3 separate regions of the Homo sapiens genome follow, and all the other regions are linked to region 1. Evidence: promoter capture Hi-C in human tissues and cell types (Jung and others, 2019). All regions are on one chromosome and are shown on one strand. Each heading gives the region's core, a stretch centred on a gene start or on the middle of the fragment in contact. The rest is flanking DNA. Distances are from core to core; before and after follow the strand shown. Region 1 holds the start of ZBTB46 (zinc finger and BTB domain containing 46). Region 2 overlaps ZBTB46 (zinc finger and BTB domain containing 46). Region 3 overlaps TPD52L2 (TPD52 like 2).

What was found. The method cuts DNA at HindIII sites, captures the fragments that hold promoters and counts their contacts. A contact is called where the count stands out against the background at its distance.
Region 2: a contact is called between a fragment that was not itself captured here and the fragment with the promoter of ZBTB46 in region 1, in 4 of the 25 tissues and cell types used here (IMR-90 fibroblasts, dorsolateral prefrontal cortex, liver and 1 more).
Region 3: a fragment that was not itself captured here is called in contact with the fragment with the promoter of ZBTB46 in region 1 in 4 of the 25 tissues and cell types used here (adrenal gland, dorsolateral prefrontal cortex, lymphoblastoid cells and 1 more).

Annotation. Positions count from the first base shown.
Region 1 is chr20:63,829,417-63,833,849 of GRCh38, forward strand. ZBTB46 (zinc finger and BTB domain containing 46) reads right to left here and starts at 1,848. Exons shown (of 5, transcript NM_001369741.1): 1 at 1,681-1,848. RefSeq lists an enhancer at 1-283 and a silencer at 1,866-2,005. The HindIII fragment of the contact is 9,346 bases long and covers 1-3,821 here.
Region 2 is chr20:63,765,818-63,770,250 of GRCh38, forward strand. The region is part of intron 3 of ZBTB46 (zinc finger and BTB domain containing 46); the gene reads right to left. Among named protein-coding and RNA genes, the nearest start is that of ZBTB46-AS2, 24 kb to the left of the region's middle. The HindIII fragment of the contact is 8,976 bases long and covers 1-4,433 here.
Region 3 is chr20:63,873,897-63,878,329 of GRCh38, forward strand. TPD52L2 (TPD52 like 2) reads left to right here. Exons shown (of 7, transcript NM_003288.4): 4 at 1,920-1,979. Among named protein-coding and RNA genes, the nearest start is that of TPD52L2, 11 kb to the left of the region's middle. RefSeq lists an enhancer at 4,273-4,433. The HindIII fragment of the contact is 6,379 bases long and covers 1-4,433 here.

The DNA.
Region 1 (4,433 bases), core at 598-3,097:
GGCGGAATTTCGGATTTCTAAACACCTCAAAGTGAGTGCATTCCACGCCCCAAGGAGAAATCTGACAGTAACTCCCCAGCCCTCTTCCTTCAGTTACGGAGAAGATGTCTAGCTTTTTAGGGGACACAGTAAGTTCCCACCTAAATTTGCAGTAACTTGTGCCCAAGTACTCCCCTCACTCCTCAGTCCTTTCTGCAGTGGTAACCAGGCTGAGGTGCCCAAAAGTGCCAGTTGGAAACACGTAAAACACACCGAGCAGAAAGGTTCTACTCTGATAAATACTGTCGCTTGCTTCATTATTCATGTGAAAAACCCCTTCTATACATTTCCTTTTGATGAACAAACTATTTTCCACTCTTGTAGAGTGAAATAGTGCCTTGCAGAGGCAGCGTGAGTGCCAGCAGCAGAGATGTATCCAGTCTGTTACCCAAACGGGAAGTTAGCTCTGATAATAGAGCCAATATGAAAGATTCTACAATCGATACAATTAAAATGCCCGTGAGTTCTCGGCGCACAGGTGTCTGCGCCCAGGCCGCGCGCTAAACACGTTTCTAATTAGCATTTCTTTAAACAATGCTGATCACAATCTTGCCACCGTAATCCACTCCAAATGCATCGTTGAGATTGCAGCACGGAAAGCGAGAGAGGAAATTCGCTGCGAATCTCAAACTTTCTTTTGTTTATATTTCTTCGCTGTCAGAAAATATCCGTTCTTCGCCCCATCTGGTCTGTACCCTGGCTCCTCGGTCCAGCCCTATTGTGTGTGCTTCGTTAAACCTACAAACAGTGAATCTGTCAGCGGGGCCAGGGGAACCCCAACTAGCAGGAGCCCTCCCTCTGGCGCAGAGAATTCCCCGTTTGCCTTAGGGATTGAGTTGTCAGACACCGGCTCGCGCTCCCCCGCGAAACTGACATGTCTATTTACAGAGAAACAAAGACGCGGCTCGCAGCGGACCCCGCTTCCTCCGCGCGCCCCGTCCGCCCCGCGCGCCCCGAGCCCTCCGCGCCCCGAGCCGCCCCGCCCCGAGGCCCCTGCGCCCCGGTTCGGCCGGCGATTAAGATGGAGACCAGGCCGGCGCCCGGCGTCCGGGGAGACAATGACCCCCCGGCCTCAGGGCGCCGGGACCCGCCCGCGCCCACCTCCCGCAGTTCCGACTCTTGGCAAACTCGGCGCGGGCGGCTCCGGGTGCGGCTGGGCTGTGCCGGCGGGGGGCGCGGGCGGGGGGCGCCAAGACGCCCCCGGGCTGCCTCGGGGCCAGGCGTTGACGCAGCAGAAATTACCAGCTGGAAAATTCCCCTCTCGGAGGTGCCGGGGAGGGAGCGCGGCGGCGGCGGGAGGTGCCGGGGGCCGAGGGGCCGGGGCAGCCCAGCCGCCTCCGCGCTCAGCCCCGCGGGGAACCCGCGCCGCCCCCGCGCGCCCCGCCCCGCGCCGCCGGCCTGGGGGGCACCCGCGGGGGCCGGGCCGGGGTCTCCGCCGCCGCCCCCGGAGCCCGCGCCGCAGCTGGGAGCGCCGATGGCCCCCGGGAGGGCGCCCCCGCGGGGCGGGGCGTGGCGGGGCGGCCGGCGGCGGGGGCGCGCCCGGGCTCGCAGCGGCCCCGGCTCCCGGCTCCCGGCTCCGGGCCCGGCCCCCGCCGCGATGCGCCCGCCCGGCCGCGCGGACAATGAGCCGGCGCCGCTTACCTGTGACCCCATGGGGCGCGGGCGAGGGCGGGCGCCGCGGCCGCCGGGCCGGCGCCGGTGATCGCCGCCGCCGCCGGGAGGGCGCTGCGTCCGGGCGGGTCCGAGCTGCGCGCTCGCCGGGGCTGCTCGGTCCGTCCGTCCGTCCGTCGGTCCGTCAGGCCGGCGCGCGCCCCCGCGCCCGCTCCAACCCCGCGGCCCCCGCCGCCCGCGCGCGCGCGCCCCGCCCGCGGACCCTGACCCCGCCCCCCGGCGCGCGCCCGGCCGCCGCTGATTGGCCCGCGCCGCGCCCCGGCCGCGGCCACCGCCCCGGGCCCCGCCCACGCCGGCCCGGCCGCCGGCCCCGCCCCTCGCTCGGCTCCCGGCGCCGCGCCGCGGGGTCGCAGGGGGCCGCGCCGGGGGTCCGTTCTCCCCCCCGCGGGCAGCCGGACAGCGGAAGTGCGGGCTGGAGCTCGCTGGGCATTGTGGGAAGCCCCCTCCCCTGGGCTGGCGGGGGGCTGGGGCGGCGCGGCGCGGGGGTCCCCCTGGCCCCCGCTGCGCCCTTGCCCCGCGAGCGCGGAGCAGCCTGGAAACACCCCACGGGAGCGGCGACCCCGGCGAGGGCACCCGCTCCCTTCCCGGGCCGCGCACCGGGCGCTGCCCACGCGCAGGTTCCTCGGGGGCGCGCGGGTGCCCAGGTCACCGGCCGTCCCCGCGCCTGACGCGCGGTTGCACTGCGCGCGTCTCGCAAACTTGGCGACTCCCCCAGCCCGGCCGGGCATCAACGCGGGCCGCTCGCGGTGCGGAAAAGGCGCCCCCAAGGAAGGCCGCCCGGGGTGCGGGGTCTGGAAGGGCCTGGGCACCGCGCGCGCCTACCCTCGGGGGCCTCGGCGCACCCGGAGATCGGCGCACCTCGGGCGCAGGCCTCGTGGGGGTGCCCGCCAGTGGGGCTCGCTTTTGGCTGACTAGGGGCACCGGCGGCCGCGCGTGGGTCCCTCCCGTCGTGTTGTCTGCGGGGGACGAATGGCTCCGGGAGGGGGCGGGAACCAGCGGCCCGGGCCTCGCCCCAGCCCGTGTGCAGCCCCGATCCGAACGGCCTGGGACGCGTCTCCACCACTCGGCGCCCGGACTCTGCGCGTCGCTTCTCGCCTCCGCCGTCCTCAGCCCTCGGGCGGGTAGAGTGGGAAGCGCGGCCCCGCATTCCTGGCCGGCCTGCGCAGGGGTAAAGGCCACCTCGCTTCCTCTCCCCGGGCGCGGCGGGAAGGGAGGTGAGCCTGTGGCCGGCAGCCGCGCGAGGGAGTCGAGCCCGGCCCGGCCAACCAATGGGGAGGCGCCCGGGCCGTCCAGCCTGCCTCCCTGCGGGCCCAGCGCAGCGGATTCCTCGGGAGGTGGGAGGCGGCGGCCCTATGGGTGCTTTCAAATCTGGATGTGTGAGGCGCATTCAGGAGCGGCAGTGGGAGGCGGCTGAGGGCTCTCCATGAGTGAGCAAAGGCGAAGCGAGGTGTGGCTGCCGGGACCAACGCCTGGGACACTCCCTTACTGCCGTCGCGGGCGCCTGGAAATGGCTGTGCGGACACCCCGTTCCCATCCCCTCGCCAAGGTCGCCGGGATGGCACTGCGGCCCAGGAAGCCCCGTCGCCGGCCTACCTCGCGCGGCACCCTCTCGGTGGCACTGCCTGCTCTGGTCTGAAACTGTAGCCCCAGCCTCACCGACCTTCGGGAAGTGGGGGCTGAGCACAACCACCCTGAGAAGAGGCGGCTTCCAGGAGGGTCTGGCGGGTCACGTGCATCCCCCTTGGAGAAAACAGCACTGCCTGCAGGAGCCCCCACCTGCCCACCCAGAGCCCAGTTGTACCCCACGGAGGAAAGGAGGCCTGGGGAGACAGGAGAGCTCGGGCCCACCGAGCCAAAGCAAGGAGGACCAGAGCCCTGATGCCTGCCCCAAGGGCCTCCCGCAGAGCCTGCCCATGCTCTCTTGCGCAAAAGAGAACCCCAGTCTCTCCCAAGATGTCTGGACCTCCCTAGACAGCCTCCAAGGAGAGCAGTGTTGATGGTTTGCCATGTCCGTTGTCCATGCAGGGATGGAGAGCAGCAGCAGCTGCCTGGCGGAACACACAGTGGCACTCAGTCATCGCTTAGGAGGCCTGCCCATAAGAACCAAACCTTGATCTCACCACGACCCAGGCCAACCCCACCTGCCAGGTTAGGGCTGCCTGTCTTGGTAGAAACTTGCTGAGGGCCGGGCGCGGTGTCTCACGCCTGTAATCCCAGCACTTTGGGAGGCCGAGGCAGGCGGATCACGAGGTCAGGAGATCGAGACCATCCTGGCTAACACGGTGAAACCCCGTCTCTACTAAAAATACAAAAAATTAGCCAGGCGTGGTGGCAGGTGCCTGTAGTCCCAGCTACTCGGGAGGCTGAGGCAGGAGAATGGCGTCAACCCGGGAGGTGGAGCTTGCAGTGAGCCAAGTTCGTGCCGCTGCACTCCAGCCTGGGCGACAGAGCAAGACTCTGTCTCAAAAAAGAAAAAAAAAGAAACGTGCTGAGTTCTAGAATGAACGGGGCGGATGAGGCTCTGGGCCCCCTCTCACCTGGGAGCCCCACTCCTCCCCGCTTCCCCCTCGGCAACACTGCCAGTGACGGGACAGAGACTCCTGACTTTTCTGCTCCAAGAACCAACAGAAGGTCAAGCAGCCTGGAGACGAAGACAGTATGTCAAAAAGGAAGAACCAAGACCGGTCTCAGAGACAGCGCCCTGATTAAGTCCTACAGACCGT
Region 2 (4,433 bases), core at 821-3,320, 63 kb before region 1:
TCTTAGAGCCCTTATCATTTTACTATCTGCCACGAGCATATTTTTTTAGGTTCTATGGCACATGTCTACAATTTTTAAATTGTTTTCAAAAAGTTAACCAAACTCTTTCAGCAAAATGGTACGGAGAGAATCTCTACAACCAGGCCTCCTTATCAACCCCCAAGACAACTCTCTCCCCGCTGGGCCCACCTGCTGCCCACCCTGGAGAGCAAAAGGCAAAGCTGTCATGCGGCCTCTGATGTACCTGCTTCAACAGCACTAGGGTGTGCCCTGCCCATGAACGCAGAGCCCAGGCGTGGACTAATCTCACAGTCAGATGCCACAAGTTTCTTCTGTCATGGTGCCCAGGTTGAGACATATCATCTCAGGCCCAACAGCTGAGAGATCCTTTTTTTTTTTTTTTTTTTTTTTTTTTGAGAGGGAGTTTCGCTCTCGTTGCCCAGGCTGGAGTGCAATGGCATGATCTCTGCTCACTGCAACTTCCGCCTCCCGGGTTCAAGTGATTCTCCTGCCTCAGCCTCTCAAATAGCTGGGATTACAGGCGCCCGCCACCACGCCCAGCTAATTTTTCTATTTTTAGTAGAGATACGATTTCGCCATGTTGGCCAGGCTGGTCTAAAACTCCCGACCTCAGGTGATCCGCCCACCTTGGCCTCCCAAAGTGCTGGGATCACAGGCATGAGCCACTGCACCTGGCCAAGAGATCCCATTTTGACCAAAAAAAAAAAAAAAGCTTCATTTTCTCTACAACTGATATTAAAACTCCAACAGGCATTTGCATAAAGAGGCGTCTGGCAGCTCAGAAGGCACGGCCTGTGTGGACTGCTCTCCCGACCCTCACAGATGCCAGCAGAGCGCGGTCACCTTTGGTAAAATGCCCCAAACCTCACTAGAAATCCCACTTTTCTCCATCTTCAGAAACTCATCTCAGGAACATAAAGGAACATAAAGATTTGAGGAACCAGGGGAGGCTCCAGCAGATGGTTCCAGCTGCAGTGGAGATGGGGACCGTCCGGAAAGGGGATGGGCTGTTGGGCAGATGGTGGGACGCGTCTCTGGCCTGGGAGCGGGCTCCCCCGACACGCCACCTTCCCTGCCAGATGGTGCTTCTGGGTATTCCAGAATCTGGAATGGGGGATGCCTATCCCCCTCCTGAGCCCACCTGCTGCTCTGGGTCCCTGGAGCCCACCAAGTCCACAACCACCTGCTCTGAATAGAAAGCTGACATTGAACCTAACACGTCCGACGAGGACGGGCAAGGGCACCGCGGGGCGCTCTTTCTGAAAAGCAGCACATTCCCGTAATTCCACGCCGACACGTGGAGCGCCGCGCACATGCCAGGCACACACCGCCAAGGACGCCGTGGCAGGCTTTGTCTTTCGATCTCCCTAGAAAGTTGCTGGGTCGGAGCCACGTGGCTCCACTTCCCACGGATGGGGACATGTTTTCCCGCCCCTGAAAGCCCCCCGTCCCCACACATTGGCAATCCCGTAGGATCTCGGTCATCTGAACCCCGTCGGGCAGAAGCTGGAGGTCCACCCGCCCCAGCTGCCCACCGGCTGGGCATGGAGATGCCTTCACCTGGCAGCAGCCGGCAGAGGACTCGAGAAATGACCACAGAAAGGCACACACCGGCTCCCAGTCACAGCTCTCCGCAGATATCCCCCTCCGACGCGGCTGTTCGGTCACCCAGTTCCCCTCCTGCTCCCACACACTTGAGAGCTCTCTCGCCTGGGCAGCTGCACCCAGCTGGAGCCCGGGACCCGGACGCCAAAGCTCTGGCCGCAGCACTGAGGTCAAAGCAAACGCCGGCTCCAGCGCACAGACCAGAGGCACCCGCAGTTCTGTCCCAAACCACTTCCAGCAGGGGAGGTGCCTTCGCTGCTGTCACTTGCTTCACAGAGCTCCTTAGCTGGCCTCAGGGTAAAGCTGTCAGCGCCCAAGGAGCTCCAGGCGAGGCCAAGCCGTCCTGGCACTGGCTGCCCCCAGGGCTGGGCAAGTCCATCCAGGGCTGGGCAAGTCCATCCAGGCCTGGGCTGGAAGAAGACTCCTCAGGCATCCTGGACAGGCCACAGGCCCTGCAGAAACCCACCCTCATGCCAGCGGGAGCCAACTCTGGAAGAGGACTGCTCCGCCCAGCTCTCCACGCCATGAGAGGTGTCGATCTGGAACCAGAGACAGACAAGTTACAGACCGTCAGGATGGGATAAAAGCAGCAAGACTTCTAGTGTGGACACTCTGCTGCCCTCACTCACCTGGGATGTTGTCCAATCACTACTAAGACAGCCTGTCAACAGCCATCTGGAAAGGAAGACTGTAATTAATTCTCAATAAAGAGACACTCAAAAATATATGCATTAACAAAACATTAACACCTGCCACCAAAACTATCCTGTGAGAAATGAGAAACGACTCGTGTGGGAATAGCAATTAATTTCAAAATCCAAAATGTGTGGTTAAGGCTGGGCACCGAGGCTCATCCTAGCACTTTGGGAGACCAAGGAGGCTCATGCCTGTGATCCCAGCACTTTGGGAGGCCGAGGCAGGCGGATCACCTGAGGTCAGGAGTTCAAGACCAGCCTGGCCAACATGGTGAAACCTCATCTCTACTAAAAACACAAAAATTAGCCAGGCGTGGTGGTGTGCCCAACGGGATACCCTAACCTGTAATCCCAGCTACTTGGGAGGCTGAGGCAGGAGAATCTCTTGAACCCCGAAGGTGGAGGTTGCAGTGAGCTAAGATCGCACCACTGCACTCCAGCCTGGGTGACAAAGCCAGACTCTGTCTCAAAAGAAAAAAAAAAAAAGTGGTTGAGCTCTTGTTAAAGAATTTTTTTTTCTCCAGGGAGGTACACACCCCATGGCCCTTTCTTTATAGAAAAGACTCCGCGACTTCAGGCACAGGAAGGAGAATGCCTTCCACCAGGGCTCTGCGCGGCTCGGGCTGGGGCAGTGGAACGGCTTCCACCAGGGCTCTGTGAGGCTCGGACTGGGGCAGTGGCCTCCGAGTCGGGGGTTGGCCAGAAATGTGCAGTGACCAGGCCTGGAAGGGACCGGCCACCACCACTGAGCTCTAGGAACTGATGTTTCCAACCCACTGCAACATGAATTGAATGTCTTTACATTAAGGGAAAAAAATTGCTCAAAATATAAAAACCAATTCAACTTCATACAACCTGTTGCTGTGGGAGTGGAACAATTACTATTGCAAAAGCGAATAACTCGGCTGACCTAAAATGGGTTTTCTCTGTACCTGGCTGAGTTGAGGGTGGGAGAGGAGGGCACATGGAGAGCAGGTGCCACCAAAGTGCCTCCTCGGAGGTGCCCGGGCTCATCTGGGCCGTGGCCACGCACACATGGGTGTCAGGGACACCATGCCCCAAGTGTTTGGCCCAGTTGCCCCAGACAAAGCTGGCCACCCTGGTGTCTTACCTGAGCTGGGGGAGGCTGTGCCGGCTCCCTGGGCTGGGTCTGGCGGTTCCCCAGAGCTCATCCTGTGGCTCTGAGGGTGGAGGGTGGAGGGGCTTCTGTTCTGCCATCAGCGACCCTCACAAGGGACCCAGGCCCTGGGAACACAGGAAAGGAGGAGTCTCACCCACAGGAACGCGCACCAGCTGCTGGGTTCTAGAGAGTTCCAGAAGCACTGACGATCTTCCCGGCATGCGGTGTGAGCCCGGTGATGCCCCAAGGGTCTCGCTGGAGGCAGGTGTTTGAACGCTTTGATCAGCTGGCCAACCCCAAATGCCCGAGGTCTCCACCCATGACTTCTCTGCGGTGTGTCTCTTTCCTAGGAGCCAAGTGATTCCAACAGAGGGTTTTGGTGGAGGAAGTCGGAGCGTGAACACCTCTGGACTGCAGAAATGCTCTCCTGATGAGAACGCCAAGGCACGCTGGCCTGGACCACCTGAAAGTGCAGCACCATGTCCACCAAATGCCCTTTAGTCGGCAACTGTTCACAATTCCAGTCTCGATCCAGAATCAAGTTAAAGTTCTCGATTCATCCTTTAAATACCACAGGGAAACAGTCTTTAAACCACAACCAAAACAAAGACAAGCTGCAACTGTTCTCTGCAAAACGCCTCCTGACGCCCGGGCCCAGCCGCTCCGCCATCTCCACGGCCACCTTCTCCAGTAACGAGCTGGTCAGAAGCCGTCCCCGCAGGAAAGGACTGCAGGGAGCTGGGGTGAGCTTCACGGGAGGCGGCACCGCACCGCCATGGCTGTCCCTAGAATCCTTGACTCTTTAAAAGAGTGAGGGGGGTTACACCAGCAACGCTCCAGAGGCCGCGTCCCACATTTCCGGGCACGGCTGATGCGGGGCTTACAGTCTCCTGTCCCCGGCCGACCGGCCGGCGGCGCATCCTCGGCTTGTCAGTGTGAAGTTGGCTTCCTCGTGCTGTTTGGAGACACGAAGGCAGCACACACCTCAAGGC
Region 3 (4,433 bases), core at 1,051-3,550, 45 kb after region 1:
TCATGCCCAGGGACGAGTTGCAGCCGTGGAGTTGAGTGGCCTGTTTGGAAGGATCCAGAGAGAGGCTCTGAGCCCTTGGCCCAGCGACTGTGCCTTGTTTGTTCAAAAAGCTTGGTGTCTACATGTGTTTTATTTATTTTTAAGTTTTTGTGTACTTTATTATTATTTTTTTTGAGACAGAGTCTCACTCTGTCGCCCAGGCTGGAGTGTAGTGGCGTGATCTTAGCTCGCTGCAACCTCTGCCCCCCGGGTTCAAGCGATTCTCCTGCCTCAGCCTCCCAAGTAGCTGGGATTACAGGCGCCTCCCACCGCGCCCGGCTGATTTTTTTTTTTGTGTGTGTGTGTGTGTGTGTGTGTGTGTTTTTAGTAGAGATGGGGTTTCACCATGTTGGCCAGGCTGGTCTTGAACTCCTGACCTTGTGATCCACCCACCTCAGCCTCCCAAAGTGCTGGCCACCACGCTGGCCTTTTTTTTTTTTTTATTATTATTCTTTTTTGAGATGGTTTCGCTCTGTCACCCAGGCTGGAGTGCAGTGGCGCAATCATGATTCACTGCAACCTCAACCTCCTGGGTTCAAGCAATCCTCCCAACTCAACCCCCCTCGTAGCTGGGATGACAGGCGTGCGCCACCATGCCTGGCTAATTTTTTCACGTTTTATAGAGACAGGGTCTTGCTTTGCTACCTAGGCTGGTCTCAAATTTCTGGGCTCAAGCAATCCTCTTGTTTTGGCCTCCTAAAATGCTTGGGATTACACGTGTGAGCCACCACATCCGGCTTATATACGTGTTCTAAAAAGGCAGACACACTGGCTAGTTGTCCTGGTGGAAAATGATAGGAAGACTGTTTCAGGGTCCAGACTTGAGAGAGCACTGATCAGGTCCTTGGCAAGAGCGGTTTTTCTGTGGTCCTTGTTGTGGGTGTGGCATGGTCACAGCCTCTGACCCAGATATGGCCATATGGGCCGGGCATGGTGGCTCATGCCTACAATCCCAGCACTTTGGGAGGCTGAGGCGGGTGTATCACTTGAGGTTAGGAGTTCAAGACTAGCCTGACCAACATGGAGAAACCCTGTCTCTACTAAAAAATAAAAAAATTTAGCTGGGCGTGGTGGTGCGCACCTGTGATCTCGGCTACTAGGGAGGCTGAGGCAGGAGAATCTCTTTAACCCGGGAGGCGGAGGTTGCAGTGAGCCAAAATTATGCCACTGCCCTCCAGCCTGGGTGACAGAGCAAGACTCTGTCTCAAAAAAAAAAAATATATATATATATATATTTATATATAGGACCATATGGTCCCACAACCCTAGGGACTCTGACCCTCCCCGATGACGACGTGGTCCTACATGACGACGTGGTCCTATAACCCTGGGACACCTGTCCCAGATGTCGCTCAGCTCTGAATTTGGGGAGTGCTGCTTTCTCACTTGGCCCTGTCCACGTGGCTTCTCTGAAACATACCCTTCAAGGTTGGGGTGGCTGTGGAATGTTTCCCAGAAGACATGTTCCTATACAAAGACAGAACAGGTCACATTTCATAAATCTCACATATGAGAGGCCCATGTTTTTGTCCTAGGACATCGTAAGTTTTGAATCCCAAGGGTGTTTTGGAGCTGTGGGCTGTGCCCTTCCAGTCCCCCACAGCAGTGCTGTTGCCCAAGAATCTCCTAGCGAGAGACCAGGGGCTACTGCCAGGTGACAGAAAAGGGAACATCAGTTCCGCTATACCCACAGCTCACCTGGCGGCCTGGGGCCTGCACAGGGCCTGGTTGAGGCAGTGGACCCCATTTTTGGGCCGTCTGTGGAGTTGATGTTCCTGCCAGCTGGTCCCTCTCTGTCTTCCCTGGAACTTCACCTGCAGTTTGATGCCTGAGTTAAAATTGTTCTTCTAAATAATTCACTGTAGACTTTCTGTTTTTAGCTATGTGAAAACTTCTGAGAAACTTGGAGAGTGGAATGAGAAAGTGACCCAGTCAGACCTGTGAGTGCCTGTATCATCAGCACCTCCTCCTTCCTCCTCTCCGCCTCCTGACACTCAGTCGGGGAAGGGGGCTGTGCACACTTGGCACAAAGCTTGTTTTGGTATTTGCTGGCTATTTTTTCTTCCTATAACTTTTCTTCTCTCAGGTAAACTATCCTTTAAACTTTTGTGGAACAGGGAATAGTAGCTGAGAGAAACTCACTCAGCCACCTGACCACACTTAAAACTCCCCTCTGCCTGATATGCGTCCCTTATGTAAGAGGCCTGCACTGGTCCTGGCTGTATCTCTAACTAATAGAGCTCCTTGGCTTCCGGCAGTGCACAAGCTGGACAACACCACTTGGCCTGGGTTTGTTGGTGGCGAATTTTTGTTTGTTCTAACCCTAACCCTTTTCCCTGCTTAGCTCCAGCTGTTGGGTTCTCAGAATTCCTTTCCTCCTTTAGGGGTAGTTCTTGAGTGGAGGGCATGGTGTAGGATATGCTGGTGGAAATTTGAAATCCTCACGATCTGGGAGGCACTGCATTGTCAGAGCATCAGCCAGTGTGGATCAAGTGTGGATAGTTTTGTATGTGTGTGTCAGTGGTGTTGTTCAGAGTGACTCCTAATATTTGGAGATCCTTAAACTAGATAATAGCACTTCATTTACTTGTGCTCTGATCTGATTATAACGTCTTTAAACTGAGGAGGGGAATATTTTTAAATAGTCTCTGTGGGATTTTTTCATCTGTTATTTAGAAGGAAGCGCTGTAATCGTTGCCACAGAACATGGGCAGAAAGTCCTCCCATGTTGGTCTGAAAGGAAGCAGTTGCTGCCGAGCTTGTCTTGAAGGTCCTGGGGGACCAGGCTGGCACTGCGTGCACATGGAGCCTTTGCGTCTGGTGTCACGGTGGGAGGCTGGTGTCAGGAACCCCGGGCGGTTCTCGGCATGTTGCCCCGGGTATTCCAGGGACCCGGGTGGTTCGTGGGCATGGCTACAGCAGCCAGCTGTACATCTGGGTGCTCTGGGGACCCGGGCGGTTCACGGCATGTTGCCCTGGGTATTCCAGGGACCCGGGCGGTTTGTGGGCATGGCTACAGCAGCCAGCTGTACATCTGGGTGCTCTGGGGACCCGGGTGGTTCATGGCATGTTGCCCTGGGTTTTTTTTGTTTGTTTGGTTTTTTTTTTGAGACAACGTCTCGTTCTGTCTCCCAGGCTGGAGTGCAGTGGCGCCATCTGGGCTCACTGCAAGCTCCGCCTCCCGGGTTCACACCATTCTCCTGCCTCAGCCTCCCCAGTAGCTGGGACTACAGGCGCCCGCCACCACGCCCGGCTAATTTTTTCTATTTTTAGTAGAGACAGGATTTCACCATGTCAGCCAGGATGGTCTCAATCTCCTGACCTCGTGATCCGCCTGCCTCAGCCTCCCAAAGTGCTGGGACTACAGGCGCCCACCACCACGCCCGGCTAATTTTTTGTATTTTTAGTAGAGACAGGGTTTCATGGTGTTAGCCAGGATGGTTTCGATCTCCTGACCTCGTGATCCGCCCATCTCGGCCTCCCAAAGTGCTGGGATGACAGGCGTGACCCACTGCACCCGGCTTGAGCAGGGTGTTCTAGGGACCCTGGTGGGCTGTGTCTCGGGCTGTTGAACAGTGACTTTGCTGGGCAGCAGATGGTTCCTAGGTTGGGACAGTGACGGTCATCCTTGCAGTTTGGGCATCAGGCGGACGCACAGTGCAGACTCAGTCTGAAAATAGTCTTAGGAGACTTCAGTGCTGTTTTGTAAAACCAACTGACATAAAGCTGCCGGGATCCTATTTCAAATAAATAGTGTTTTAGAGAGCTTATTACAACACTCAGCGTCCCGACCCCTCTGGAGAAACCTGTGGCTCAGCATGGAAGCATATGGCCAGTGCATCACCTGGCCGAGGCCATTCCCCTGAGTTCTGTGGCGAGAGCTGTCAACTGACGGTTCCAGAGTGGAAGCGTTTCTGCCGGGAAGGCCCAGGCCGAGGGCGATGGTTTCTGCCGGGACGGCCCAGGCCGAGGGCGATGGTTTCTGGTGGGAAGGCCCAGGCCGAGGGCGATGGTTTCTGCCGGGACGGCCGAGGCCGAGGGCGGTGGTTTCTGCCGGGACGGCCCAGACGGAAGGGATGCGGCTTGGGAGGTGGGGCCTGAGGATGTGGCCATGGCGCGTGCTCTTCCTGGCTGGTGCCTCTCCTAGTCAGCTTCAGGAGATGGGCTGTAGATGTACCTCCACTGCCCAGAGCTCTGCAGGGGAAGGCAGTAAAAGCTCCCTGCATCCTGACCCACGTGTTTGTAGATCCTTTCAGCTATTGGCGCCCTGGAGGATGGACGGGAAGGAGAACGTGGCCGGTGGGTGGAGGATAGCACTGGTGCCTGGCCCCATGAGGCTGCAATGCGGCCACATTCTCAGTGGGTCATGTCTGAATGCGAGAGCAGCTGTGTTC